Regions from separate parts of the Homo sapiens genome. Here all the other regions are linked to region 1. The links are contacts of gene promoters, found by promoter capture Hi-C in human tissues and cell types (Jung and others, 2019). All regions are on one chromosome and are shown on one strand. The core of a region is centred on a gene start or on the middle of the fragment in contact, and the rest is flanking DNA. Distances in the headings are between cores, read along the strand shown.

The links. Contacts are between HindIII fragments. The study calls those that stand out against the background at their distance.
Region 2: a fragment that was not itself captured here is called in contact with the fragment with the promoter of BCL11A in region 1 in 1 of the 25 tissues and cell types used here (dorsolateral prefrontal cortex).
Region 3: a fragment that was not itself captured here is called in contact with the fragment with the promoter of BCL11A in region 1 in 1 of the 25 tissues and cell types used here (dorsolateral prefrontal cortex).
Region 4: a contact is called between a fragment that was not itself captured here and the fragment with the promoter of BCL11A in region 1, in 1 of the 25 tissues and cell types used here (dorsolateral prefrontal cortex).
Region 5: a fragment that was not itself captured here is called in contact with the fragment with the promoter of BCL11A in region 1 in 1 of the 25 tissues and cell types used here (dorsolateral prefrontal cortex).

Annotation. Positions count from the first base shown.
Region 1 is chr2:60,552,209-60,555,018 of GRCh38, reverse strand. It overlaps BCL11A (BCL11 transcription factor A), which reads left to right and starts at 1,365. Exons shown (of 4, transcript NM_022893.4): 1 at 1,365-1,803. The coding sequence starts at 1,749. RefSeq lists an enhancer at 56-105 and silencers at 796-885, 2,295-2,654. The HindIII fragment of the contact is 9,532 bases long and covers 1-2,810 here.
Region 2 is chr2:58,657,636-58,660,445 of GRCh38, reverse strand. The region is part of intron 2 of LINC01122 (long intergenic non-protein coding RNA 1122); the gene reads right to left. Among named protein-coding and RNA genes, the nearest start is that of LINC01122, 140 kb to the right of the region's middle. The HindIII fragment of the contact is 6,196 bases long and covers 1-2,810 here.
Region 3 is chr2:58,845,879-58,848,688 of GRCh38, reverse strand. The region is part of intron 2 of LINC01122 (long intergenic non-protein coding RNA 1122); the gene reads right to left. Among named protein-coding and RNA genes, the nearest start is that of LINC01122, 330 kb to the right of the region's middle. The HindIII fragment of the contact is 3,213 bases long and covers 1-2,810 here.
Region 4 is chr2:59,045,896-59,048,705 of GRCh38, reverse strand. The region is part of intron 12 of LINC01122 (long intergenic non-protein coding RNA 1122); the gene reads right to left. Among named protein-coding and RNA genes, the nearest start is that of LINC01793, 170 kb to the left of the region's middle. The HindIII fragment of the contact is 4,193 bases long and covers 1-2,810 here.
Region 5 is chr2:59,250,598-59,253,407 of GRCh38, reverse strand. All of the region lies in intron 1 of LINC01793 (long intergenic non-protein coding RNA 1793), which reads right to left. All of the region lies in intron 2 of LOC105374754 (a long non-coding RNA gene), which reads left to right. Among named protein-coding and RNA genes, the nearest start is that of LINC01793, 34 kb to the right of the region's middle. RefSeq lists an enhancer at 2,588-2,810. The HindIII fragment of the contact is 5,585 bases long and covers 1-2,810 here.

The DNA.
Region 1 (2,810 bases), core at 116-2,615:
GGGGCTGCTGGCTCCTGGGTGTGCGCCTTGGCCGGCGGCGCCTGGGGAGCGCGGCGGTGACCCGAGGCGGTCATCTCACCACCGTGGTCTCCCCGCTGCTCCTGCGAGCCTGTCGCTCTCTCTCCATTCCCATTTTCTCTTTCCCTGGGTAACAGCACAGGAACAGTTGTGCTCTGCCCGTAAGAAACATTTTCTTCCCATCCCTCTGTGCTTTTGCAGTTGCTCTGGAGTGGGAGGGGGTGTGTCCCTCCCAGGGACCCGGCTCGGGGACCTCCCGCGGCGCCGTGAGCACATTCCCAGGGACTGGGACTCCCGGGACTGCCCGCGCTTTGTCCTCGGCCTCTCAGAGAGGTGGACGCCTCGGTGCCTCTCTTGCCCAGGCCCCCGGCGCTCCCCTCCGGGGGCCAGACTCTGGCTCCTCGTTCTTTATTCCTCGGGCTCTCTTTCTGCGACCCTTAGGAGCCGGGGACTCGGCGCTTTCAGTTGCATTCAGACCCAGTCGCTTGGCGGGGCGCTCAGATTCCCGGTCCCTGGCTCGGCCTTGGGGGCGCCCTCGGGCCCCGGCCTGCGCCGCCTGCCTCTCCCCGGTCCCCTCTTTCCAGGCCGCGCGGGCTCCTGGAGACTTGGGCGCTGCCCTTCCGGACCCGCAGCCCTCCAAACTTAGGCTGGATTCCGCGTTGCCGTGCGCTCCCTCCCACCTCCCCTCGCCCGCTGCGGAGCTGTAACTTGGAGGCTCAGCTCTCAACTTCGGGTGATTTTTCTTTGCTGTCCTCTCCTCGGGCAAAGTTTCCCGAGCGCAGCCGCGGGCTCGGGGCTTTTACTTCGGCCCCTGGCGTCCACACGCGGGGAGCGAGCGCGGCGGCGGCGGGGAGGGGAAGTGGGTGTGCGTACGGAGGAGGGTGTCCGGGAGCAACTCTACCTGGCTTCCCTCCGCCCGCGCTTCCCCAGCCCGGGGCTGCAGCCTCCCGGTGCACTCTCGCTCTATTTTTTTCTTTTTTGAATAATCTTTCATTTTAGAGTCCGCGTGTGTGGGGGGGAGCAGGGCGCACGTCTTGCTCCCCCCCACCCTTTCCTCCCACCCCTGCCACCCCTTTCTTCTCTCCCGGCCACGCCACCGCCGCGGCGCTCGCTGCGGCCACTGGTGAGCCCGCGGCCCCAGCGCCCCCTCCCCTCGGCCCGCCCCTCCCCCGGGGGCCGCGTCTGGCGTCCGCGGAGCCCCCCGCCCCGCACCTCCCCCTCCCCGCACTGGCCATTGGCTTGTCCTGGTCTCTTTTTCATGTCCAGCCCCTGATGTGTGTCCATTGGTGTGAGCTTCCCCTTCCCTCCTCCCCTTCTCTCCTGCTCGCCCTGCCCATGTTTTGTGTGTCTCTGTCCATCCAGACTCCTGACGTTCAAGTTCGCAGGGACGTCACGTCCGCACTTGAACTTGCAGCTCAGGGGGGCTTTTGCCATTTTTTTCATCTCTCTCTCTCTCTCTCCCTCTATCTCTCTTCTCTCTCTCTCCCTCTTTTTTTTTTTTTTTTTTTTTTTTTTTTTGCTTAAAAAAAAGCCATGACGGCTCTCCCACAATTCATCTTCCCTGCGCCATCTTTGTATTATTTCTAATTTATTTTGGATGTCAAAAGGCACTGATGAAGATATTTTCTCTGGAGTCTCCTTCTTTCTAACCCGGCTCTCCCGATGTGAACCGAGCCGTCGTCCGCCCGCCGCCGCCGCCGCCGCCGCCGCCGCCCGCCCCGCAGCCCACCATGTCTCGCCGCAAGCAAGGCAAACCCCAGCACTTAAGCAAACGGGAATTCTCGCGTAAGTAACCCAATAATAGTAATAATAATTATTAATAATCACGAGAGCGCGCAGGACTAGAAGCAAAAGCGAGGGGGAGAGAGGGGTGTGTGCATGCATTTTTAAATTTTTCACGAGAAAAACCTCCGAGAGTCGAGGTAAAAGAGATAAAGGGGGAAAAAACCCTCATCCCATCTGGAACCATTGCCGTGTATGCACTTTTGAGACAGCACGCACCTTTTAATTTTATTTAATTTTACAAAAATTTGACTCCTCCTCTTTCCTCCTTTCCGCCGCTTTATTTCTCTTTTCGAAAAGGAATGCAATGATTCCACTCCCCCCCCGCCCCGCCAGTTTTGCAAAATAATGAACAATGCTAAGGTTGCGAACAACTCACATGCAAACCTGGGGGTGGGAGCTGGTGGGGAAAGGGAGGTTGCTTCCCACTCACCGTAAGAAAATGGGGGGGTAGGGAGGGAGTGAGTACAAGTCTAAAAAACGATTCCCGGGGAGAAAAGAGGTGAGACTGGCTTTTGGACACCAGCGCGCTCACGGTCAAGTGTGCAGCGGGAGGAAAGTAGTCATCCCCACAATAGTGAGAAAGTGGCACTGTGGAAAGGGGCCCCCGGCGCTCCTGAGTCCGCGGAGTCGGGAGAGGGGCCGCGGCGACGGGGAGAGCCGTGGGACCGGGAAGGACGGGAGACGCGGCCGGCACTGCCGCCTTTTGTTCCGGCCAGAGGTGGGTGTTTGTCCCGCTGCCTTTTGTGCCGGCTCCTCGCGCTTGCCCTCCCGCGCCGCCGCCGCCGCCGCCGCCGAAGGGCAGGAGCTAGGGCCGGGGGAGGAGGCGGCCGGGGGCACGCGGGAGAGGGAGGGAGGGAGCCCGGACTGCTGCCTCCTGGGTTGCCGCTGCCCTCCCCTCCCGACCGAACCTCAGAGGCAGCAAGGAGAAGACTGGCACATAAATAAATAAATACATAAAAATAAAATAAATAAAACAAGGCAAGAGAATGTACAATTTCTTGCCCCCA
Region 2 (2,810 bases), core at 184-2,683, 1.9 Mb after region 1:
TTCATCAAAGAATGTGTTTGGTTCTTAACTATACATTTTGAAAGCCTTGTGGGTAACCTCTGTCTGACATCCCAATTCTGAATATCCAGTGGTCCAATGTGCTTGGGCCTCCAAGGCTAGAAAGCCACTGTCTCCCGTGGACAAAGAGAGGGCCTGGTGACTGGTCCCTCCGTACGACCACAGGGCGCATGCCAGGTCTGTTTACTCATGCTGCACAGGTTGAGATTCTCCAGAGAAGAAACTGGGTTCCTACTGACCCACAAGGTATCAGAAGACCCCAGCCACTCCCTCTTCTCTGTTTTTCTAACTCTGCTTATCAACCAAAGATCTTTCTTTTGGTCTGGTGAAACAGAAGATAACAATAAAGCCTGTCTGTGCTTTATCTACACTTTGTGAGTCCAAGCCTCTGTCAAAGTCCACTTAAAATAATTTTTAAAAGGAATCTGCTCCTAGCTCCACTTCTAAAAGCACGAAATAAGTCTGTAATCAAATGAAATTCAGAAAGGGTATTACATTTTGTCCAGCACCAGTGTACAACATAGAATTCTGTAGGTGTCTGTGGTTATTATGGTTATTGGATAAATACTATTTACGGAGCACTTGCTGTGATCCAGGGACCATGCTAGACACTTTACATGTATTATCTCAATTAATCCTCCCAGCAACCTTTCGAAAATTTCTTTTTATTATCCACAGTATACAGAGGAGAAAGAGGAGGCACAGTGTGGCTGAGTAACTTGCTAAGGTCAGAGAACATGATGGAGCCGGCTTGAATTTAAAAGAAAAAATATCAAGCAAGATTTGTTTTCTTAAATAAGCTTTCTATTTCTTTCCCCAAACCATTCTTAAAACAACAGAACACATCCACCTAGAATCATTGTAACAAATTACTTTCAGTCCAGTATTAACAAAAATGCAGAAAAAGAAAGGAAAGTGGGAAGAATAAATCTCTAGATAAACAGGCAAAAACAAATCTAAAAATTATAGCTCTACCAACTATCTTGGAAAGTCTAGTTGTTATGGTCTGAATTACGTTCCCCTGAAATTCATATGTTGAAGGCCTAAGCCCCGGTACCTCAGAATGTAACAGTATTTGGAGATAAGAGCTTTAAAGAGCTAATTAAGTTAAAATGGGGTCTTTAGATGGGCCCTAATCCAATGTGACTGCTATCCTTAGAAAAAGAGGAAATTTGTGCATAAAGGGGAATGACCATGTGAGAAACATAGCAAGAATGTGGTTCTCTGCAGAGAAAGGGAAGAGGCCTTAGAAGAAACCAACCATGCCAACACCTTGATTTCAGACTTCCAGCCTTCAGAACTGTGAGAAAATAAATCTCTGCATTTAAGCCACCTAGTCTATGGTATTTTTTAAGGCAGCCCAAGCAAACTAACATACACCAGTAGCTGTATATTTTTGTCAAAGAATTGGGGGAGCCAGAATGCGGGATTCACTGAGAGTTGCACTATAACTCACAGCTTCTACACCGGCTACTAGTAATTTGCAAGAATTTTCTTACATAAAAGATAAAAGTGGGAGTCTAAAGGGTACAAAGATAATCTTGGAAATGGAAAAAATAACTATTTTCACTTGAGCCTATCCCAATTTTTATAAATAGGATCTTTCAAAATAACCTGTACAGAGGTAGATATCTTCTTCTGTTTGTGCGCGTTCTCTCTCTCCCTCTCCCTCTAACCCTCTCTTGTCCTGCTAACATTTCATTCAACATCCTTACATGTGACAGGCTTCATTCTCTCCACAGGTGGACAGGTATGCTGATTACGCTAAGAATACATTTGGCTATAGAGGAATGCATTAACTAGAAACATAGCATGAGGTTCTAACCGACAAACTCCTTAACATGCAATTTGGCTTTGATATTGGTTAAGGAAGACAAGAAGCAAGAAATCAACTAATTTCGGCTAGTTGTGGCTTACCTACTCACATTATCTCATCACAACAATGGCTCCCCTTTTACCACCAGTCAATGGGCTGGGAGCAAAATCAGTGACCTGAGCTTGATCAGTCTCCCAATCACAGCCATGCTCCCCCAGAAGCTGTGGGGTAACTGGCTTTACGCCACAGTCAGCCCTCCCTCATTTCTGCTCACTAATAACCTTTCTTTGCTTTTGTTTGGATCTTAATGACCTCAACCCTTCACAAGAAGTTTGTCTCTTTTTTTTTCCTCCTCAACATGAACATGAAATGGCAGATAACCTAAAGAAATAAATATAATTTAGATGTAAAATAAAATATATCTACTAGTGTGTGTATGCATGAGTGTGTGTCTCATTGGCATGCACCAGATTGTACTAAATGGCAGAAATTTCCCAAGGGAAGATAACCTCCAGATACTGCTACAAAGCTTTATTCCCTACACTCTGCAAATTATTTAATTTAAACACTGCTTGATATGACTCTCCTAGGAGAAGGGTGTTTTCCCAGGTCCATTTTTAATTTGCCAGTGTGTATATGCATGTGGGCCTATAGAACTGGCCTTGCAAATGCACACATTGCTAAGAGAATCTGAGCAAAAGCTTCAGATTGCATAACCAGGGGCTGCAAATTGCTGTCTAAAACTAAGAAAATGGTAAAACGCATATGAAATTCCTTCTTCTTTTTGGTAAGGAAAAAATAGATAAAGGTTCAAGTATCCATCTCCCAGGGTCCACACACCCAGACAGTTTCCATTTCCTTGAGAAACAGGACTAATTTTTTTTTAAACATCGTGTGTGTGTGTGTGCAGGTATATGCTGGCGTGTGCACCACTGTTCATTTCTCACAGAAGATAGTCACGTTTATTGATGCATTT
Region 3 (2,810 bases), core at 147-2,646, 1.7 Mb after region 1:
ATATTCTGTGATATATTTCATATATATATAGTTCTACTTAGTCTAGTCGAGTCTATTTCCATTTGAACCACTGGTAAAGAACCAGTGTTGATAATAGCCATTAGTTAGAGCAAAGAAATCTACAATCACCGCCGTTCCAACTGTTGGCAACTTAGAAGTAAAATTTTTCACATAGTGATTTATATACATATCTTCTGACGATAAGAAACTCCAAGGCAGACACCATCTTATTCATCTTTAAATCACTACAGCAACTGCCATAATATTTGGTATATTGGTCTTAAATTGTAAAAATAATTGAATGAATGAATAAATAAGAGAATTAATATTTAAATGTGGACACTGATTATTTGTGCTATAGTCATACCACACTGAGAACTGTCTGGAAGAGTTTTCAGAGAGCGACAGAGAAAAATTGGCTGACTATTCCTGGAGAACACGTTGACTGTTTGTTGGATGAAGACAGTTCACCAAGAAAGCAGATTTTGACCCTTCAAGAACTTGAATGTGATGATGAGTTTATGACAGTTCTAAAAGCCAACATACGGTTGGTGGCCAGATTGTGGTTCTGGACTCAGAGGCTTCCATTTGGAAGGCAGACAAGCATTTGAATTATGGGTCTAATGAAAGTGTCAATAGCGATTCTGTTACTGGAGGAGCCGTAAAACCCTGCTTAATGAACTAGGCAGGGACACAAAAACACAATGGTCTAAAATGTACTGTATGAGAAAATGATAATTAGTCAAGATTTCATGTATAAGATAAAATGCATAGGGATGATATTACCACTGAGCAATATTATAGCCCTTCGGGGGACTGTTTTGTTAACAGGGTTTGGCTCAGCTTTTTCTATCCTCCTCGTATGAATGGAGATGCACTATACAACCATGAACTGTGAGTTAGGGAAAGAATTCCTATCATAGATGCTGACAAACATCTAAAATTCAAGACAATAAGAGGGTTCTAGCCTCATTAAAGCTTCACTCTTCTTTGGGAGGATTTAGGCCATAGGGGGTGATAAGCCAAATAGTTTCTCACAGAAAAGGAATGGAGGTTAAAGAGAAGGTGATTCTCTAATCTTGCAGTCTACTTTACTAGACCACCAAACATCAAGTGGTGGGCAAGGGTCACTCACTTCCACACTGTACTCAGAAGCTATTGAGGTTGCTCTGAGCACAGAAGAGAGCAGTAACCTTGGAGTCAGGGGGCTGAGGTTCTAATCTTAGCTCTACACTAACTCTGAGTGTGAACTTTCTCATTTCTTAAAGGAGGACAGAGATGAAGGTGGATTAGAATGGCGCTTCAAAAAATTTAAAGAGTGTAAAAATCACCTGGGTATTTTGTGAAGATACAGATCTTGATTCAGTTGCTCTAGGGCGGGCCTGAGATTCTGCATTCCAAACAAGCTCCTATGTTATGCCAATGCTGCAGGCTCATAAACCACAATTTGAAGAACAAGTGACTAGCTGGTATCTCCCAATTTGAAAATTTGATGAAACTACCAATGTCAATAATAATCCGTTTGCTATCCATTACTACAAGTGGGAAGAGAAAAGCAATTACTGAGTTTTTGGTATCATCAAGGCAAAATTGTTTCAGCTTTGTTTTTGTCTTGTAAATCTAAGTAAGCTGCTTTATCCTAGTTAGAAACTATGAATGCTCTGACCTGTACAATAACAAATTTGTCAGGAATTTTTGGTGGTAGACTGTTAATACTGTTAGACTAGCTAAATATTGCTTTTGGAATAATGTGTTTTATGGCTAAATGGATTGCATGTACAAACTTAAAATGGGGTAAACTATGGTGACTATGAGTTAAAGTGGTGGATCTACATCTATTAATAATAAAGACAAAGGGGATCAAATGATGTGATGTAAGGCATAGTTACTTGTATACAACAATGTGTTAATGTAAGCATGATAGCTATAGGATGACATGAGTTGGGCATGGCTCATACCTTGCCCAAACAGTATCCTAGGTGTTCAGCCTGTTGAAAGTAACTTTGAATGCTATAATCCACTGGGTTCTCTCCATAGATATTTTCTTCCCTTGCCCAAGTTTAATTTTTAAGATGGCATATAGGGAACATGGGGAAAGGAAGAACACTGTATGAATCCATGGTATAAAAAATTATTTCACAGATCTGCAGACAGGGATTTTAGAAGTTAATAGAAATTTTCTTCATTGTGTCAAGTACAGTATTTGACACATAATAGGAGCTCAATTAATGTCTGTTAAGTAAAATGATCTGAAAGCAATAAACAATTGACTAAGCTTCAAGAATGAAATTAAATGAAAGTTCACAAAATCTTCAATAGTTTAAGGGGCCATAAGTTTGGGGGACAAAAACTGGGGACATGTGTCCTTGGTTTTAAAAAAGGAGAGGTCTTTCTCTCCCTCCACTCCTTAAAAAGAAAGCTTTCCTTAGAAAAGAATCAGTAAATTAATCTCAGAACAAGAATTTAATGAGCCCATATAATATGTTTTATGCTTCATATAACCTACCTCTTTTACCCCCTTCAACAACCCTATAAAGTAATTATTATTATTATCATCCCCAGGTGCCTCAGATGCCACAACTAGTAAATGGCAGTACTTTCATTCTAGTTTATCTGACTTAGAAGTCAGCCCTCTGCAGATAGCTTCTAATACAGTCAGGGCAGGGAGGAGAAGGGACAAAATATTTTTAAAAGAAGGGAAAGGGAATATATTTTTTAAAGGGCTAAATTATTGAGACTATGAATTGTAAGGAAATTAAGAGAGGAAATTCACTGTGGACTTCAGTCAAAGTTGGTTTCACAGAGAAAAG
Region 4 (2,810 bases), core at 79-2,578, 1.5 Mb after region 1:
GGTAGTTTGAAAAGGGCAAGATCAAAGCGAGCTGGAGTTTTGGGGTCAGGGGTGGGATTTGATCTGTTTATTGAAGGGCTAGAAAGATTTGGACATAAAGAGAGAATGGCTCCTTATAGGAAAAGGGGAAAAATCAGAAGATAAGCACAAGGGACCCTAAGGAGACTGGCTGCCTTGGAGCAAAAGCTTACTATGTCAAACAGCCTAGACACCTAGCCACTGCCATCATGTTAGTGGAGGTTGCTGGTCAAGTGACTTCTCTGTCCTGGATCTCAACTCTTCAATTTCCAATGAAAATTAGCTCCCGGGCTCCTATTTATCTTAAAGATGCATCTCCATTTAAATGTGTTTAATGCTTGCAACATGCTCAGTGTTCACTACCTGTGAGAGAGGCACACATTATTATTACCATAATCATCATTTACCACCTGCTTGCCTCACTTGAACCCATTACTCATTGCCATCCCTCTCCCAGGGGGAACCCTTCGTCACCTCTCAGGGTTCATATACCTGCTTTTTGGGAGATAAATTTACTAAATTATCAATTTTACAGTGATCCCTTTCAAACACTTGGGGAACTTGAAATGGAGAGTGGTATTTGACTGGATTCCTCAATAACTATGCTTGCTTTGAGAAGCTGATGGTGTTTGAGAGTGGGTCAGTGTCCTTTCAAAGTCAGTAAAAGAAAACATCCCACAGAGTGACTTAGGAAACATAAGATCCAAAATATCTTCCAAAGTAGGGGTCTTCTCACAAGAGAACAATCTCCCACATTTTCCTGTTTCTCCCACGTTCTCCTTTTCTTAAGCTAGCGATGATAATCTGGGAATAAATACACATTTTCTAAGGGAGAAATCCTGCCAAGCTTGTTAATCTCATGCAGATGTGATGATACTTTTACTATGTTGTAATATGGCTTCTTAAAAAACAAGTTGGAAGGAGGGGGGGAAAAGCCCACCAAAAAACAACAAATATTCACCAACCCATATGGTCAGTAATTGCTGTTTAATAGTCCTCCTATTACAAACCTAAGAGGCAGCAGTCTGAATTACCAGTAGAGTATTAATAAACAGGAATGAGTTAATAGTGCATAAAGACCTTCTAGTGGAACAGTGGGGGAGTTGAATATTCTTTTCTTCAGTCAGCTGTAAGTAATTACTGCATGGTGTGCTTCTGACTATTACCATAACAGAGCAATTGGACGTGAAGAATGGATAATAGTATGGACATGGAGGTATTTTTAGAATATCAGCAGTGAAGCAGGTAACTGGCCTACTCCAGTAGAAACCTTTAAATAAGTTTCGAAGACTTATTTTTTTTTCCTTATGACATTTAGCCATGGTAGAATTTTAAAAAGATCAATCTAATACATTATTTAAAATAACTTTACAAAGAGGATGCCTGTGATATGTAAATAAGAAGCCAAGAAGGGAGGAAGGAAAAGCCTAAAAAGCCCAGGCGGACACGAGGCATGAGCCGACGTTACTGTAACTACATAATCACAGGTTCCCTCCTGCTCCTCGGAGACACAGCCTTCCTCTGCCTGGATGCCCAATCTGCTTGACTGGCTCCCACTGGCTGCTCAGGTGAAAGTGAAAATATTCAAATCAGAGCTGTAACTATGATTGCTGGAGTTGTGGGTTTTCTAAAATTGAGTTAGTCATCCTCAGTGATTTAATGATGCATATCATTTATTTTAAAATATTATTACAGGGGCATTGACTGAGCTGCGGCTCCTTTTTCAAGGGACTGTCCATTATGCAATGCGGCAGGGTATGTCATGGATGGCGGCAGGCTGAGATATTGTCTAACAGCACAACATATGTTCTCAGATGAAAACAGCTTGAGACTTTGATTCAGAAAGCGGTAACTTTGTAAATGCACACAAATATCATTTAAGGAATATTTTGATTTTTTTTTTCAGGGTATAGGTCCTTTTCCTGCCTCCTGACTGCACAGGCCGAAGCTGATTTTTCAATTTGCAGGTTTGTTAAGCATCATGGAATGTTTTGGTTCTCAATCAAGAATATTCTTCCCAAGTGGTTCCAAAGTCCTACGCTTGAAAATAAACGCGTGTCCTCTTTGTCTCCTAGCAGCATGTGTTCCAATGTACAATAGCAGCACAGGACGGAGCAAGGCATTGCCTTTTATTGAACCACCCTATAGGTTTTTAACCTGCCACTCTCAGGGGCTGCAAGCTTTCTTAAAGCCAGGCGGCATGCTCTCTTCTTTGGGCGGCACTGGCAGCTGGAGTCCAACGGGGGTGGTTAGGAGCCAGGACCCAAGTCCTCCTCCTGGCAGGATTCCTGTCTTACGTTGTGGCACAGGAGCTGAACAGAGGATAAGCCACCCCAGTGCTAATGACCTCAGAGTCCCACCTGAAAAGAAGAAGCACAACCTATGGGACAGGTGGCAATGCTTAACTGATCTCTGCCCACCCCTTTGAAGTCCTCTGACAAACAATTGTGTGTGAAATAAACACTGTCACACTTATTTTTCCTGAAAAAAACACATTATTGTGTCTGAGCTCCACCAGCCAGCATATTCTGATTCACCTAGACACAGCCCCTTGCTTGCTAAAAGATGCTGCAGTGGAAATATACAGCTGTGTATTTCACCTATTTAGCTGGTGATTCTTAATAGAAGTCAAGGGCACACCTGTAGAGGTGTTATGGCGACCCAGGGAGAACCACAGTTTCTCTATATTGCTGGTTTAGGTTTTCTTTTTTTCATGTTTTTGAAAATAGAGTAGTTCCCTTTTCCATAAGTCTACAGGAAGATGAGGACAAAAGAAAATCTGGCTAATTAAA
Region 5 (2,810 bases), core at 199-2,698, 1.3 Mb after region 1:
ACCGTTACTGTTGGCATCCAGAACAGTCATCCTATTCCTTCTGCAGGCTCTGTACCATATTTAGACAATCTACCAGGTGGCTGCAACTATCTCCCCTGAGGCTTCCAAGACCACTGCTCCACACAGTAAGGGGGCCTTCCCATTAATGTTCTTTATTGCCTCCAATTGATGTGGTCACATCATGAAATTCTGGATAGATTTAGGCCATGCTGGTCAAAGGACAGACTTTTTTGTACAAATAGGACCATTTTTCTCACTTAGTGCCTTCCTCCTTTTCTACCCTTCTAGCTAGTGGAAGTGAGTGGAAGGTACGGATGCAGACAACATTGAAAGAGATCACATTCTAGGAATGCAATGTTACAGCCCAATTAGTTCATGAGAAAGCATGGTTGGAAGATATATTGTTTCTATTTGTATGCTATAGAATTCTGAACGGTAAACTTAACATGATCAGGGAATAAGTTATTCCTCACATTTTCTGCATCCTCTGGGTAAGACTTACAATCGTGGTCATCATCAATGAAGCACAAAAACAGCCTTTGAGAGAATTACTGGAAACCAATATCTACAAACAGTGCAATGGATGATGAAGTGACACAAGTCCTATTATAACTAGACTTTTACAAAATGGTACTAGGGAAGCTCAGAAGCAAGATCATCAATATTATATCAATATATACAAGTTCTGAAGAGTCATGGCAGAGTAAGTAATATCAGCATTGCTAGCTTTTTTCACAGTGGGAGTTGTGATTTAGTCAGACCCGGTAATTCTGAAAATCAAAAAGTAAAAGAAAAAACATAAAGAGAAGTTTCTTGCACCTGAACAGATGGTGCCTGGACACTGAAAAGCTTTCACACACGTTAATTACACAAGAAAAAATATGTAAGATTTTCTTCTCTACCCTTTTCTCTAAATTTTTAATAACTGGCTCTTGAGGTTTGTAATATTATTTTAAATCAAACTGGTTATAAAAAAGGAGACCTTTTTTAATTTTTGGCCTGGAGAATAACACAACTTAGGAGCAGCCCTTCTGGCCACACAAGGTACTAAGCAAGTGATGTGTACGGTCTATTTTCATCTTTACAACAGCCACAGTAACCGGTTATTATCTTATTACATAGAAAATAAAATAATTTGCCTATGCACACAGTTAGTAAATGGTTAAACGGTGACTCTTATTCTGGACAACCTAATTTTTGTTTGTTTGTTTGTTTGTTTGTTTTTGTTTCTGAGATGGGGGTCTCACTCTGTCACCCTGGCTGGAGTGCAGCCGCACGATCTTGGCTCACTGCAACCTCTGCCTCCTGGGTTCAGGTGATTCTCATGCCTCAGCCTCCCGAGTAGCTGGGACTACAGGCACGTGCCACTACACCCAGCTAATTTTTTTATTTTTTGTAGAGATGGGTTTTCACCATGTTGGTTAGGTTGGTCTCAAACTCCTGACCTCAGGTGATCCACCCGCCTCGGCCTCCCAAAGTGCTGGGATTACAGGTGTGAGCCACCTCACCCAGCCCCAGGACAACCTAATATTAATGTGTATACCAACCTTGGAAGAGTAGGACAAATCTATTATTCCACCTTAGTTGTGTTTCCTAGATAAGTGTTACCTTTTTTCTTGTTGTAGAAATTATTATCATTATTATCATCATCATTATCACTAATAAAATATTTTTTGAATATTAGCTATGTGCCAGACATCATTCTAAGCATTTAATATGTTTAATATTCATTAAACAATTTTAACAAACTTACTTATGAGGTGCCTATTAATAATATTTCCAAAGCACAGATGGAAAAATTGAGGTATCAGAGTGACTAGGTAATTTACTCAAGGTTACTCAGCTATCAGTGACAGACAGGGGAATTAAATAAGACTCTGGCTCTGGAGCCCAGGAAAATCAGAACCAAATTTTCTAGTTTGGTTCCTTTTACCTATATTTATGAACTAAATTGGGACTTGGACATAAAACATCACAAACCACAATATATGACTGGAAGCCATCTGTGATTTTACTCTGGTGAATAAATTTATTTTCATTGGCATAATCTAAGGACTTAGCATTGCTGGTTTTAATGGCACCTCTGGTTCCTATAGATACAGTGGTCGAAAGGGTAAGCTTTGCAGCTGGTTGCAGTGGGGTCACCATGAAAACATCCCTAAGGGGAACTCATTTAATTCAAGAACATGAAATCATTCATTCATGAGTACATCATGCACATGACCATATATATGTGCCTGTAATACATACATGTCCATCCCATTCCTTTATTTCTTTTTGGCTTATAATAGTAATGTTCTTTCTATGTAGGAATGGAGAATTTTATAATTGAAAAATGTATATTTAGCCAGAGCACAGACATAAGGAATATATCAAATAGCACATTCACTGTAGCTAGCTTGGCTTAAATATAGCACGATGCCAAATTTCTAGCCAAAAATTGATAAGAGTAGTCAATAAGCCAAGCATGCAGAACTATTTGTAAAAATTTAGATAATTGACTAAAAATTTCAATTTTCATTCCTACGCCTGCAACCATGTTCCTTAACATTTAATGTTTTTCTGTCACTACTTAGAGTAACAAATATTTCACTTCTTCACACTCTTAGCAATAGCATACCTACAAAATAGCTGAAATAAAAATGTGATGACTTTAAGATTTACAAGTGATAATTATCTTTTTAAAAAAATTCTCATTCAGAGCAAAATTTCCGATTTGTTTTCTCCTATCAACTCCTTGTTTTGTTTCAAGATCTCACTGATCATTTGCAAATGGTGAAAAGCCTCTTTAGCCCACTCTATATTTCATC